Regions from separate parts of the Homo sapiens genome. Here regions 2 and 3 are each linked to region 1. The links are contacts of gene promoters, found by promoter capture Hi-C in blood cells and fetal thymus (Javierre and others, 2016). All regions are on one chromosome and are shown on one strand. Each heading gives the region's core, a stretch centred on a gene start or on the middle of the fragment in contact. The rest is flanking DNA. Distances are from core to core; before and after follow the strand shown.

Region 1 (4,319 bases), core at 986-3,485:
AGGTTAAATGGTTTGCCTGCGGTCACACTCTGATTCTTAATATTCTCTTTGCTACTCTGCACTGCCTTTCCGGAAACTACATGGCAGGGTTTCCACCTTATTCATCTGAGAGGAATATCTTACATCTCATATGGTTTGGAGGAGTCCCCTTGAATAGCAAGTGAAATTATACTCCCCAAAGCGATTTGCTCCATGATTTTCAGATTTCATAATTTGTGTAGCTACAAGTTTAGGCACTTTTGTATATGTCATCTCATTCATCCTCACAACAACCCTAAGGGCATACAACTAGTGAATGGGAGAGCCAGGAATGGAACCTGGATATTCCTAATGTCTGAGTCCTATTTATTTCACTATACTATGCTGCTTTGTCTATCAGTTGTATAACCCTGGGCAAATCACTTAGCCTCTGTGACCCTGCATTACCTCATTTGTAAAGTGAGTATGACGATTACTTCCTTTTAGAGTTGTGAAGCTCAAATGTGCTAATATAAAGTAGAAAACACCGGTAGAAACACCGGTTGTGGTTATGGCTGATAAGTGTACCAAAGTGAAGTAATGTAAAACAGTATCTCTTATTCTCTCTTCAGTTAAAGAGATTAGCAGCAAAAAAGAAGCCAAGGAAGATGCTCTTGAATAAGTGGTTACTCACCAGACCTATATGGCTTGCTCTTGTTAGCTGGCCTTTGCCAGAAGGAGTCTGAGTAGAATTAGGAGTTCCTTGGGAAATTTCTGGAATGGTTTGCTTGTGGAGGCAATAGTCTAAAAACTTAGGTGGGGCTAACTCCATCCTGGGTCTTGTTCAGTTGTCCCTCCTACCACGGGGACTGCTATGATAATGGTAATGGGTGTAGGCCTGATAGAGTTGTGGTTTGTTGTAATGGGAAGCCATCGTGACTAAGAAATTAAGACCAATTCGGGCAAATACATTTATTGAGGCCTCTGTGGTAGGCTAAACTATGAGGGAGATAAAGCAGTGAGTCAGCCCCTTGTCCTCAAGGATTTTACAGTGCAGTGAGGTGGAGACAAACCCTCAACTAACGCTTACAGATAAGGCAGAGTATAAAAACGGTCACATCAGAACAACTTAGAGGTGGGGTGTGGAGTTCCTAGAAGGCTTCTTGAAGTAGGTGGTATATACTCTGAGACTTTGAAGATGAATTTCAAGTAACTGGGTATTCCAACTGAAGGTTGGCAGCATCAGAAGGTGTAGGATGTGTTATGTTTAATATAGGCAGGAACGAAGGCCTTTACTGAGCATGCACTGTAATGCTAGGGTCTGACGATATAGAAATATATTGAAAACAGTTCTTGCCATTGAGGAGCTCTTAATCTAGAGGGATAGATAGGTGTAAACTGTCATTAGGGTGATGACTTCACAAGGTAGAGAAGAAAGGTTATAAAGGAGAGTGTGTAACTCTGACATAAGGAAGAGAAAAAGATACTTTGCAAAGGAGGTGAAACTTGAATTATGTCCTGAGAAAGAAGGAGGAGTTTGCTAAGTGGATGATGGGAGAAGCTAGGAGTGCTACAGGCACCAGCGTTCCCTTGTTAAACAATCTAAATGTGACAGGCACCAGGCAAATACATTTTTGCTTCCCCTTTCCAAATGGATTTTGGCTGTGGGAGGGAATGACTTAATGTCTTCTTTTCCAATATACTAGCAGATGGTTAAATATTTACAGTTAGACTTGGATTCTAATTCAGCTATATAATTAGCTGTATGACCTTAGTAAGACACTTATTTGTGTTTCAGTTCCTTCATTCATACAATTCAAAAAATAAGAGTCTAGTACAGAGCCTGGCATATATAAAGTGCCATTATTATTTTCTATCATTATCTCATTTAGTCTTTGTAAGTAACTGGGCCTCTAGTTACAATTTCCCCCATTTTTCAGAAGCAGGAGCTCAGCGTAGGTAGGTGGCCTGTCTGAAGTTCACAGGTCAATCTGCAGTCGCCTCCGCAGCCCGTCCGCTTTAATTTTATGTCCGCGCCGGGTTTTCCAAGGCGGCCCCGGGGGCAGGCTCTGGTCCGGTGGCCGAGACTCCGGCGCCAGGGTTTGGGCGGCGCCGCGGCCGGCTCCGGCGGGCGGGCAGGCGGGCGGGGCCAGGCGGGGCGGGGCGGGCGTGGGGAGGGAAGTTGTGGAAGTTAGGGGAGACGCCCGCCCGCCCGCCCCGGCCTCGCCTGCGGCCGCTCCCTCCGCCTCCTCCCCGCCCCGAGCCCCAGTCAGCCCGTCTTCCTTCCCCTCCCTTGCATGATGGAAACACCATGGCTGCGGCGGCCCAGCTCTCTCTGACACAGGTAACGCCACACGCCCGTCCGCCGGGCTTGGCCGGCCGGTGCCCCCTCCCCCACCGCCCTCAGCTTCGCCGACTTCTTGGCTTGTGGGCCAAGCAGGCAGCTTCTTGGCTTGTGGGCCGGGCGGCCGGTGTGTGTGAGGGAAAGCGGGTGCGACTGCGGGAGGGCGCCCTCCGGAGCCGGAGCCCCCCTGCGGCCGCCGCGACCTCGCCCAGGGTCGTCGGGCGCCTCCTGCCCCGCCCCGCGCGGCCCTCGCCGCCCTCCGCGCCGCTGCCGAGTGGACTGTGACCCGGCCGCGCTCTGCCGGTGCCGGGCCGGCTCCCGCGGGGCAGCTTTCACCTACCCAGGAAGTTTCCTCCCACAGGGCCGCACGCATCCCAGGTGAGCTCCTGTTGAGCTCGCGCGGGCCGGCCGCACCCCCGGGCCGCACGAGGCTCGCCCGCCAGGCCGGCTGCGCGCCGCCCCCAGTAGGAGTTGCCTTCCAGAGCCGGACGCGCAGGCCCCCCAAGCCAGTCTTTCCTCTCCAGACCTGCCTTTCTCCCAGGGTCCGACGGAAGCCCTCCCTTCCCAGAGTTTAATGTAGTTAGCCTCGCCTCCAAAGAAGTCTCATCCTACTCAACTACCCACTCTGCCGGCCCCTTCCTCCGTTCAGCCTCTCCCCCCTCCTGATCAGGTTTCCTTCTGGGTCAGACCCCCAATGCAGCCTTTTGCCACCCACGTCTGCTTCCACTTCAACTTCCCCTCGGGGGGCTCACGCCTGATCGCTGTCCAGGTGGATCCCTTTAACGGGTGTGGTGGCTCCGCCAGTCTTGGTGCCAGGAACGGCCTCCCGGGGAGCACTTTTCTTGGGGGGAATCCTCAGCAAAACCTGTTCTCGAGCTTCCCTCTTGCCTCGTTGCTTCCTGTCAAAGTCCAGTCCTTGTGCTTCTCAGAAAACCTCTAAACATCACTCACACTGGGAACCTGGTCCCTCCCTCTCTGTAAAGAAGCCAATTACAATGTAAACATGGTGTCCGGGATGATAAGGTGACAGACACCTGCCAGTTCCTTCCTGCTCCTGTGACCCAAACTCTCCCCCGCGTCTCCTCAGACGGTTCTCTCCAGAGCTGGTGGCGCGTGCTTCCCGATTGGGGCCCATCCCGTCTTCCTTGCCTGCATTGTGGTATCTCACTGCCATCTTGTACTCCTTGGCCTAGATTCGTCGGTGCTTCTAAGGCTTTAGCGCTGGGATAGGGCAAACATTTCGGCAGTGGAGTTTTCTGTGTTTAAAATCAAGAGGCTTTGGGGTGCTTTGCCTAGCACTGTAGGATAGAGAGAAAAAAATGTTTTCTCAGAAACCAGGAGTCACGTACATGCTTCATGTAAAATAACTAACCCGTGTTTGCAGGAATTCTAAGTGTCATAAGGAAAGTCTATTTCCCAGTTTTTTTGATGGTGGTGGTGGTTGTCCTGTTCTGACAAGCAGAGAACCCTTTAACATGGAATGTGGTGGTTTAGTCTTGGTTATGTATGTTTGGAAGGGTCCTCCCAAAACTCAAATTTGAACAACTACAGCACTGACTTTTAGGTATTCACTTTCTGTGAGTCTAGTTAGTGACTTGCATTAAACAAGATCCCTGTTGGCAGGCTGTTGTTTTCTGGCTCTGTTGGCCAATTCTGGCAGGAGTTTTCCCTTGAAGATTTTGTGCTCTTAAAGACTTCCGTAAAATTGCTTCTCAGTTGTGTGCATACTTTATTCTCTCCCTGGGTAATACCATGTTTTTAGCTTCTATTTACATCATTCATCTCTGGAGAATTGCTTCAAGCTCTGTCAGTTTTATAGCCATTTAAAAAATTTACATATGTTCTTGGGTTATATATTTAGGTATTAATGTGTACACAGTAAGTACGGAATCAGTAGTAGCTATTATCCTTCAGTGCCTCACATATGAGATAATATACATTGGTGGTTAATTTTTATTGATAATTCAAATAAGTAAATTCAGAATATTCTGATTTTAAAACATGAAGAGGCAATAAG
Region 2 (4,319 bases), core at 1,040-3,539, 160 kb after region 1:
GTTAAGTGATTCCTTCTAAGGAAAGGTAGCTTATGTCATATATTTCTAGAAGTGAGGTTATCAGAATATATTTAAAAATAAATAATGGTTAATTTGCACATTTAAGTTTTTACAACTTGCATGATGCCAATAGTGAGGTTGTTTTTTTAAATCTTAAGTAAAATAATATGCTAGTGTTTTTGCTCAATCTAAGAATCTTCATCCAAGTAATTGTATATCATTGTAAAAAGATTAAGGAAAAGACTGGTTTGTTGGAAAGAGCACTAAACTGGGAGTCTAAATATCTGGGTTCTGTTTCTGGATGTTCCCTGACTAACTATGATCTTAAGTGTATAATTTCATATATCTGACCCTTGGCTATTAAATGTTGGCAGTAATTCTAATTTTGCCTACTTTCACAGGATTATTGGAAGAATCCATTGAGATATGAGCATCTTTTCTAAGCAGCTACAGTGATGGAATCTGTTGTTATGATTGCTATTACCAGCTTATGCATTTTAGGAAAAAAATATATTTGGAGATATTTTGACCCCTATTTTTATTATCTTTTCTTCAAGAAGTACTAAGTTTAAGTAAGACTTAGAGAACTTGTTTGAAAATGGTAATGAATTAGTGAGTGACTAATAGGACAGAATACTATTGTTTGGTCAGAGATTATTTGATCAGCAACCGCAAAGATTTAGGCCCTGGGCTTCAAAACATTTTTTCTTCATTTTGAAATACAGTAAATAACAAAAAATTGGCAGCATTTTACTACGGTAATTTAAAAATTTTATGCTCTTAGGTATTGTATGTAGAACTAGAGAAAAATCAGAAGAATTTTCCCAGTTTTCAGAGGTCATTTGCTCTTACTGCCACTAGTGGATAACTGTTATCAGGCTGAGGGCTGTAACAGCAGAGGCAGGCCATTTCTGTCTTTATTCTTTATTATTCTCCTTCTGTTTAATCCATTCGTCTCTCCTTTTGGGAACATGCTGCTTGGGTGTGGCTAGGGGATGGTGGGATTCAGTCTTTGGACAAAAATATGATTCCTGGCCCATCCTTACTTTGCTATTTGTTTCATTAGCTGCACATAGCTGGAATCTATTTGAGAGATCATGTGTGAAGAATTTGAGGACAAATTGTTGGTGTAGCTATTTAAGACAATATTCAGAATGTGTTTTAGGTACTCAATCATCCTCTACCCACAGTACTTTAATGCTATCTGTGTACATGTTCTTGTGTGCTTGTATTTGCTGTATTTACTGGTTGAATTAATTGTAATGATTTTGATCCAGGGAAAAGATCCATCAACAAATTGGATTCTCCTGATCCCTTTAAACTGAATGATCCATTTCAGCCTTTCCCAGGCAACGATAGCCCCAAAGAAAAAGATCCTGAAATATTTTGTGATCCATTCACTTCTGCTACTACCACTACCAATAAAGAGGCTGATCCAAGCAATTTTGCCAACTTCAGTGCTGTAAGTACTGTGAATGAGCTGTTTGGGGGAGAAATCTTTAAAGAGTTTTCAGAGATTATTTTGGAGTCTGCCAAGTTTGCATCATTTTAACTAAATTTACCAAGATACTAAAAATGATCTTTCATTCTTCCCCCAAGCAAAACCTCTGTTTGATCCTGTTTTGACAGTTCTACGGTTGTTCCATCGCACAGATGATTTTAGTAGTCCCAGTTCTTGTCATATACACAAGTTGTTTTGTAAATCTTTCTCTTAGTCTTGGTAATGTAAGTAAAATCCTAACAGTTATTATTTTGTGGATGGTTATGGGTGATGGTGATTTAATGAACAATTACAGAGTCATTGCTCTCTGCCCACTAGATGAATAATGCCAGTAATAAGTTTGTGTATTTGCAGCTGTGTATGTGTGTTTGTGTATAAAGTTTTAATGATTTCTGGAGACCAGTCAGCAAATATTATATGAGAGGATAGAGCCAGAGATTCTTTGAATAGAAAGTAAAACTATTAAACTTACACAGTAGCTTTTTAAAAATGTAAATGCCAGTTTTATGAAATAAATAAATAAATGGTTGTCAGGATTTAAACAATCTTTATTTGGAGGGCCCTAATTCACTAACTTCTCATGTTTACTCTGCGTTCTTTCAGAGATGTCTAAAATAGGAAGATCGTTAGAAACAGTGGAAGGGTGCCATGATAACAGCATAAGCAGGGCCTATAAAATCACAGAAATGGGGCAACCAACCATGGAGGTATCAGTCTAGAGAGACATAAAGCAATGTCATATATTCCATCATTATTCAGTAAAAAAAGTTATTTTTTAATAAAATTCTTAGACCGGGTAACAAATTTTCAGTTTCACAGTTTTTTCAGGCAAAATAACCTTCGTTATCATTGCCTGTTCTATAAAACAGAGATTTTCTTCTATTTATCACCTTATGCCCTTGAGATGATTTTGGAAATAGATCTAGTGGCCAGGTAACTCTGCCTAATATTTCCCTCCTCAGTGTAGCATTGGGCCATTCAACCAATTGCTTTATTCCTGCAGCTGTTTCTAGTTAGAAGGGAGGTAGTCAAGAATCTGCATGCAGGCCGGGCGTGGTGGCTCACGCCTGTAATCTCAGCATTTTAAGAGGCCAAAGTGCTTTAAGCACCTGTAGTCCCAGCTACTTGGGGGGCTGAGGTGGTGGAGGTTGCAGTGAGCTGTGATCATGCCACTGTACTTCAGCCTGGGTGACAGAGCCAGACCCTGTCTCCAAAAAAAAAAAGAATCTGCATGCAACTAAGACGACTGAGCTCCCAGCTTTTGAATCTGTACTCTAAGTTCTGGTGGCTTCTCTTGACTATGAAGGAGCAAAATAGGAATCAATATTTTGAATATTGTAAAAATGGAGTGCCAGAATTATACTGATTTTTTTTTTTTTTTGAGATGAGTTTTGCTCTTATTGCCCAGGCTGGAGGCGCGATCTTGGCTCACCACAACCTTCACCTCCCAGGTTCAAGCAATTCTCCTGCCTCAGCCTCCCGAGTAGCTGGGATTGCAGGCATACCCACCACACCTGGCTAATTTTGTATTTTTAGTAGAGACGGGGTTTCTCCATGTTGGTCAGGCTGGTCTTGTACTCCTGATCTCAGGCGATCCACCGGCCTCAGCCTCTCAAAGTGTTGGGATTACAGGTGTGAGCCATCGCGCCCAGCCTTACTTAACTTTCCTTTTTTTTTTTTTTTTTTTTAAAGACAGAGTCTTGCTCTGTCGCCAGGCTGGAGTGCAGTGGCGTAATCTCAGCTCACTGCAACCTCCACCTCCCAGGTTCAAGCAATTCTCCTGCCTCAGCCTCCCAAGTAGCTGGGACTACAGGCACGCACCACCACACCTAGCCAATTTTTGTGTTTTTAGTAGAGACGGGGTTTCACCATGTTGGCCGGGATGGTCTCGATCCCTTGATCTTGCAATGTGCATGCCTTGGCCTCCCAAAGTGATGGGATTACAGGGGTGAGCCACCGCATCCAGCCCGACTTAACTTTCATTAGATGGAATTTGATTTGTTTCAAGCAGAGAATCAAAAATTGGCCTTTTTAGAAGGTTATAATTCTCTTAGTGTAAAATAACCCTCTGGTAGTTTGTGGCATTTAATATCTTAAGTATGGTTTTAGCAAGTCAAACTCTTGTTGGGGCCAGACGGGGTGGCTCACACCTGTAATCCCAGCACTTTGGAAGGCCGAAGCGGGCGGATCACTTGAGGTCAGGAGTGTGAGACCAGCCTGGCCAACATGGTGAAACCCCGTCTCTACTAAAAATACAAAAATTAGCCAGGCATGGTGGCGCATGCCTGTAATCCCAGCTAGGGAGGCTGAGGTGGGAGGATCACTTAAGCCCCAGAGGCAGAGGTTGCGGGAGCTGATATAGTGCCACTGTCCTCAAGCTGAGTTACAGAGCGAGACTCCGCCTCAAAAAAAAAAAAAAAAACAAAAAAAAACAAATCTGGTTGGAAGGAGTCTTGAACAACAGCTGAGGCATTTTGCTCCAAAATCTCAATATAGTATAATAAAAAACAGCTTATAATAAGAACATCTTCTTTTTTCATTGTGAAAGATGTGGTTAAGCATTACACGTTTCAAAGTTTTGCTTAATTCCCTAGGGAAAAAAACTACCATTTCAAAAGCCTGACAGTGTATTTTATTTCATCCTTTCATGAAGGATTTTCTATGTAACAAGACTTGAAACCAATTAGAATTTTTAATTTAGTATTTGCCAAGGTTGCTGTTTGGGGTAGATAAAAATATTTCCCCAACATAATAATTATGAGTGTTAAGATTTTATTTAGACTGGTCTAAAAGTTCCCAAAGCCTGGAGAAATCTTCA
Region 3 (4,319 bases), core at 522-3,021, 130 kb before region 1:
GCTATCACATATATACCATCTGATTGAAACAAGCCTGTCTCATTTCCATCCTGCAAATCTCCCATACCTACTCCTATCTCAGTGCCAGGATTTTTCTATTATAATTTGGTGTCTTTCTCAGCGGTATTTCCCAGTTCTATCAAGGACTGTTAACAAGGGCAATAATATGTTTACCAAATATATTCACATCTTCAAAAGTAAGGATGCAGAAAAAAAGGTGGAAGAAAGAAGTCAACAGGGTCCTGAAGAAAAGGTTCCTAGAAGCTGATTAACCTAGTTATGATAGAGGCCACTTTTCTTCATATACAATGGGATACTAGAAACTGCATCCCTAGCCATGCATTCTTTCTTGCCTTTACCTATTTGAACAATGGTGGAAACTGAAAGCAGCATGAAGCTATAGGTCTGCACCATAAGGCAGCCACTAGTCACATGTGGCTATTGATCCCCTTCTCTGAAGTACAGCTAGTCCTAATTGAGATGTACCCTTTGTGTAAAAAACACACTGGATTTTGAATAGTTAGTATGGAAAGAAAGATTGTAAAATATCTTAATTTTTTTTTATTAATCACATGTTAAAATAACAATATTTCAGATATACTGACCTAGATAAAATATTAATTTTGCCTGTTTCTTTTTACTTTTGAAATGTGGCTTACTAGAAAATCTTAAATTATAGATGTGGCTAACATTGTATTTCTACTGGACAGCACTGCTATATATACCATGATTAAATAGTGCTGAACAGGAAAAACAAAGCAGCGGCAGCTAACAGTTGGGATTTTTCCATTTTTTCTACTGTTGATATACCACCAACACCATAACTCACTTAATTTCCAGCCCTTGTCTCTTGTCTGTAAAGTAGAGGTTTAAGAAAATCAGAACATGCATTAAGTCATAAATACAACATTGAATCATGGGCCAAAATAACTGAGTTCTAGTCCTGGTTCTGATACTGACTAACAGTTACTTGGAGAAATCACATTTTCTCTCTGAGACTTAGATACCTGCCCCAACAATTATGTAAGGAAGCTAAACTAAATTTAGACTTCCATAATTCTATCAGAATACAATTTTCTTCTGTCAAAATTGATTTTCATAAAAATGAATAAATACTCACTCTGAGTCTAACACATCCTCTGCGAGAGCCTCTCATCATTTTGTCCTTGGACTAAAAGAAAAACAAAGCATTCAATGAATAAAACATTAACAGACTGGTAAATTGTTTTTAGAATCATCTGGGGATAAAAGGACAAGATTTACAGTAATACCCATCCCTTCTGCCAATTTCTCTTCCAAAAAGAAATTACTTATGGATAGGAAAATAAACAGATTTTAAATGAAAATGTCATACAGTCTATATAAATTAACCTAATCATAGAACTTTACACATACCTTTAATGTAACATATATTACATCATTATTTTCATTCCTTCTTCATTCCCTTAAGTACGAATGTTTCTCATACTTTAGAGAGTCAGAGAACCACCTAGAAGGCTAAGAATCACCTGGAGGTTTAAGAATCACTCCCAGATAATTATTTTTTTTTGTTTTGTTTTGAGATGGAGTCCCGCTTTGTCGCCCAGGCTGGAGTGCAATGTCTCAATCTTGGCTCACTGCAACCTCCGCCTCCTGGGTTCAAGCGATTCTCCTGCCTCAGCCTCCAGAGTAGCTGGGATTACAGGCACCCGCCACCATGCTCGGCTAATTTTTGTGTTTTTGATAGAGACGGGGTTTCACCATGTTGGCCAGGCTGGTCTCGAACTCCTGACCTCAGGTGATCCACCCACCTCGGCCTCCCAAAGTGCTGTGATTACAGGCGTGAGTCACCGCACCCAGCTGCCCCCAGATAATTATGACAAAGGCAAACAGAAGACCATACCTCAAGAAGTATTGCTTTAGCTTTACCTCTGCAATTCCCCAAATGGGTAACATTTTTTGCTTCTGTGACTTCTCATCCAATGTCCCTCAGTTTGGAATTTTCTTGACCCAAATGTTCTGCCTCGTTGTCATTCCAAGCACCTTAGCTCTGTCTGATTTAGATTTCCACCCTGGGCTCCCAGAGTCTTCTGTGTGTTCCCCTGTTGTGGCATGCATCACCCTGTGTTATAATTGCTGGTTTACTTCACCCACAAGACTACACATACCTTAGGGGGTAGGAATTGTATCTGACTTATGCCTCAGAACAGTGTCTGGTACACATCAGGTGCTCAAAAAACATTTACTGATGAAATGTAACTTAGCCTTTCTGTGTCTCTTACTAAACTGAGCCAAGCAAAGCCTATGTTATGCAAAAGTGCTATGTTTACATTCAGTAAATATTCCTAAGAGTAAATTAGTCATGTGCAATACAACAAAGTAACATCTCAAATAATGGAAGTTGAACAAATACTTAATACTTGAACAACTGGTATTTTCCTGTACTCCACCTGTGTGAGAAAGCAGCAAAACAAGCCAATATTGAATGATTATGTTTTAAAGATGATTATCCCACATGAAACTATAGATGCCCTACATCCAAAGTCTTGAGCCGTAAGAATTCATGTTCAGAAGTGATTACCGAGATACTAAACAGAGTATTCTTTTTGTTCTAACTATAAATATCAGGAATCATATATTTTAGGAAAAAAATTTCTCAATACCAAGCAGAGTTGAAAAGAGTTCTTTACTAATAACACAGTGAAAGAAAACAGTTGATGAAAACATTCCTTAAGCATTTAGTCGCCCTTTTACTGTACCCTATACTTATCTTCCCTTCAAGTGTAAAGGAAATACACAAAAATAATAATTAGATTTGAAAATCCCTGATGAGGTTAGAATGCAAAATTAACCCAAACAAGGTAAGAATATATTCATCCTTGATCCTCTTCTACTATAACACAATTTTTTAAATAAAATTACAGTAAACAGAAAAAAGGCAAGACAGGTCCCAGTGGTAATACAACTATTAGGGTTACAAATTAAACAACATTAAGAGGGCCAATTATAATCCTAGTCGTTTCCTAATTTCCTAATCCAGCACTTTGGGAGTCCAAGGCAAGAGGGTCACTTGGGCCCAGGAGTTTGAGGTCGGCCTGGGCAACATGGCGAAACTCTATCTCTACAAAAAATACAAAATATTAGCTAGGTGTGGTGGTACACACCTATAGTCCCAGCTCTCAGGAGGCTGAGAGGTGGGAGGACTGCTTGAGCCAAGGAGGTCAAGGCTGCAGTGAGCCATGACCACACCCCTGCACTCTAGCCTGGGTGACAGAGCAAAACCCTTTTTTCAACAACAACAAAAAAGAAAAAACTAAGAGAGATAACTGAAAATAATTAAAACAAATACAACCAGGAAATAATCACGCAAATCCAGAATGTGTGACATTCTACAAAACAACTGGCTTAGATTCTTGCAAAATGTAAAAAAAAAAAAAAAAAAAAAAGACTAACATGTAAACAATCGTAATAGAGCAAAAATAAGTGCTGTGGACTCCAGAAGGCTCCTCCCAGTCAAGGAAAAAGATCAGGGAAGGAAGCAAAACTGAAATGATCAGGTTTCAAGTTTCAACCTGGGGCTTTAAAAAAGAAAGAAAGAAAAAAGAAATCTGATAAAAAGAAAGGGAAGGTAGTGGGGGAAAGGCCATTCCAAGACAAGGAAACAACATCAGCGAAGGCACAGATGTAGAAAACTTTACTTTCCTATTCATAGGAGAGTAGATGTACAGACAAGAGCACAGGGTGCAGACAGGAACTTACAGATAAGACTGAAGGCCAGGAACAGTGGCTCACGCTTGTAATCCCAACACTTTGGGAGACTGAGGTGGGCAGATCACTTGAGTGAGGCCAGGAGTTCAAGGCCAGCCTGGCTAACGTGGTGAAACCCTATCTCTACTAAAAATACAAAAATTAGCTGGGCATGGTGGTGCACACCTGTAATCCCAGCTACTTGGGAGGCTGAAGTAGGAGAATCCCTTGAACCTGGGAGGCGGAGGTTGCAGTGAGCAGAGATGGCACTGCTGCACTCCATCCTGGGAAACAGTGTGACTGTTTCAAAAAAATTAAAATTAAACATTTTTTAAAATGAGGCTGAAAAGAAGATTACAGGGACCAGATCCTGAAGGGTCTGAAAAAAAACATGGAGTAGTTAAGGAAATTTAACTTTATTCAATAGTTAATGGGGAGCTACTAAAGGTTTACAAAGAGGGCAATAGCATTCTTAAAGGTGTGTTTTAGAAAAATAACACCGTTAAATAAGAGGACTTGGAGAAAGGGATAATAGCAACATTAATAATAACAATAGCAGAAGCAGCAGATCCTCACTCATTGCTGCCCCTTAT

The links. Contacts are between HindIII fragments. The CHiCAGO score rates a contact against its expected background, and 5 or more counts as called.
Region 2: a contact is called between a fragment that was not itself captured here and the fragment with the promoter of EPS15 in region 1, in 1 of 17 cell types (megakaryocytes). The highest score is 5.1, in megakaryocytes.
Region 3: a contact is called between a fragment that was not itself captured here and the fragment with the promoter of EPS15 in region 1, in 1 of 17 cell types (neutrophils). The highest score is 5.6, in neutrophils.

The regions. Positions count from the first base shown.
Region 1 is chr1:51,517,182-51,521,500 of GRCh38, reverse strand. EPS15 (epidermal growth factor receptor pathway substrate 15) reads left to right here and starts at 2,235. Exons shown (of 25, transcript NM_001981.3): 1 at 2,235-2,302. The coding sequence starts at 2,270. It overlaps EPS15-AS1 (EPS15 antisense RNA 1), which reads right to left and starts at 3,229. Exons shown (of 5, transcript NR_183651.1): 1 at 3,055-3,229. It also overlaps a transcript of OSBPL9 not described here. RefSeq lists silencers at 2,012-2,201, 2,352-2,821 and an enhancer at 2,052-2,980. The HindIII fragment of the contact is 8,390 bases long and covers 1-4,319 here.
Region 2 is chr1:51,358,314-51,362,632 of GRCh38, reverse strand. EPS15 (epidermal growth factor receptor pathway substrate 15) reads left to right here. Exons shown (of 25, transcript NM_001981.3): 24 at 1,278-1,462. Among named protein-coding and RNA genes, the nearest start is that of TTC39A, 30 kb to the right of the region's middle. The HindIII fragment of the contact is 7,902 bases long and covers 1-4,319 here.
Region 3 is chr1:51,648,843-51,653,161 of GRCh38, reverse strand. OSBPL9 (oxysterol binding protein like 9) reads right to left here. Exons shown (of 24, transcript NM_024586.6): 2 at 1,121-1,171. Among named protein-coding and RNA genes, the nearest start is that of OSBPL9, 34 kb to the right of the region's middle. The HindIII fragment of the contact is 8,753 bases long and covers 1-4,319 here.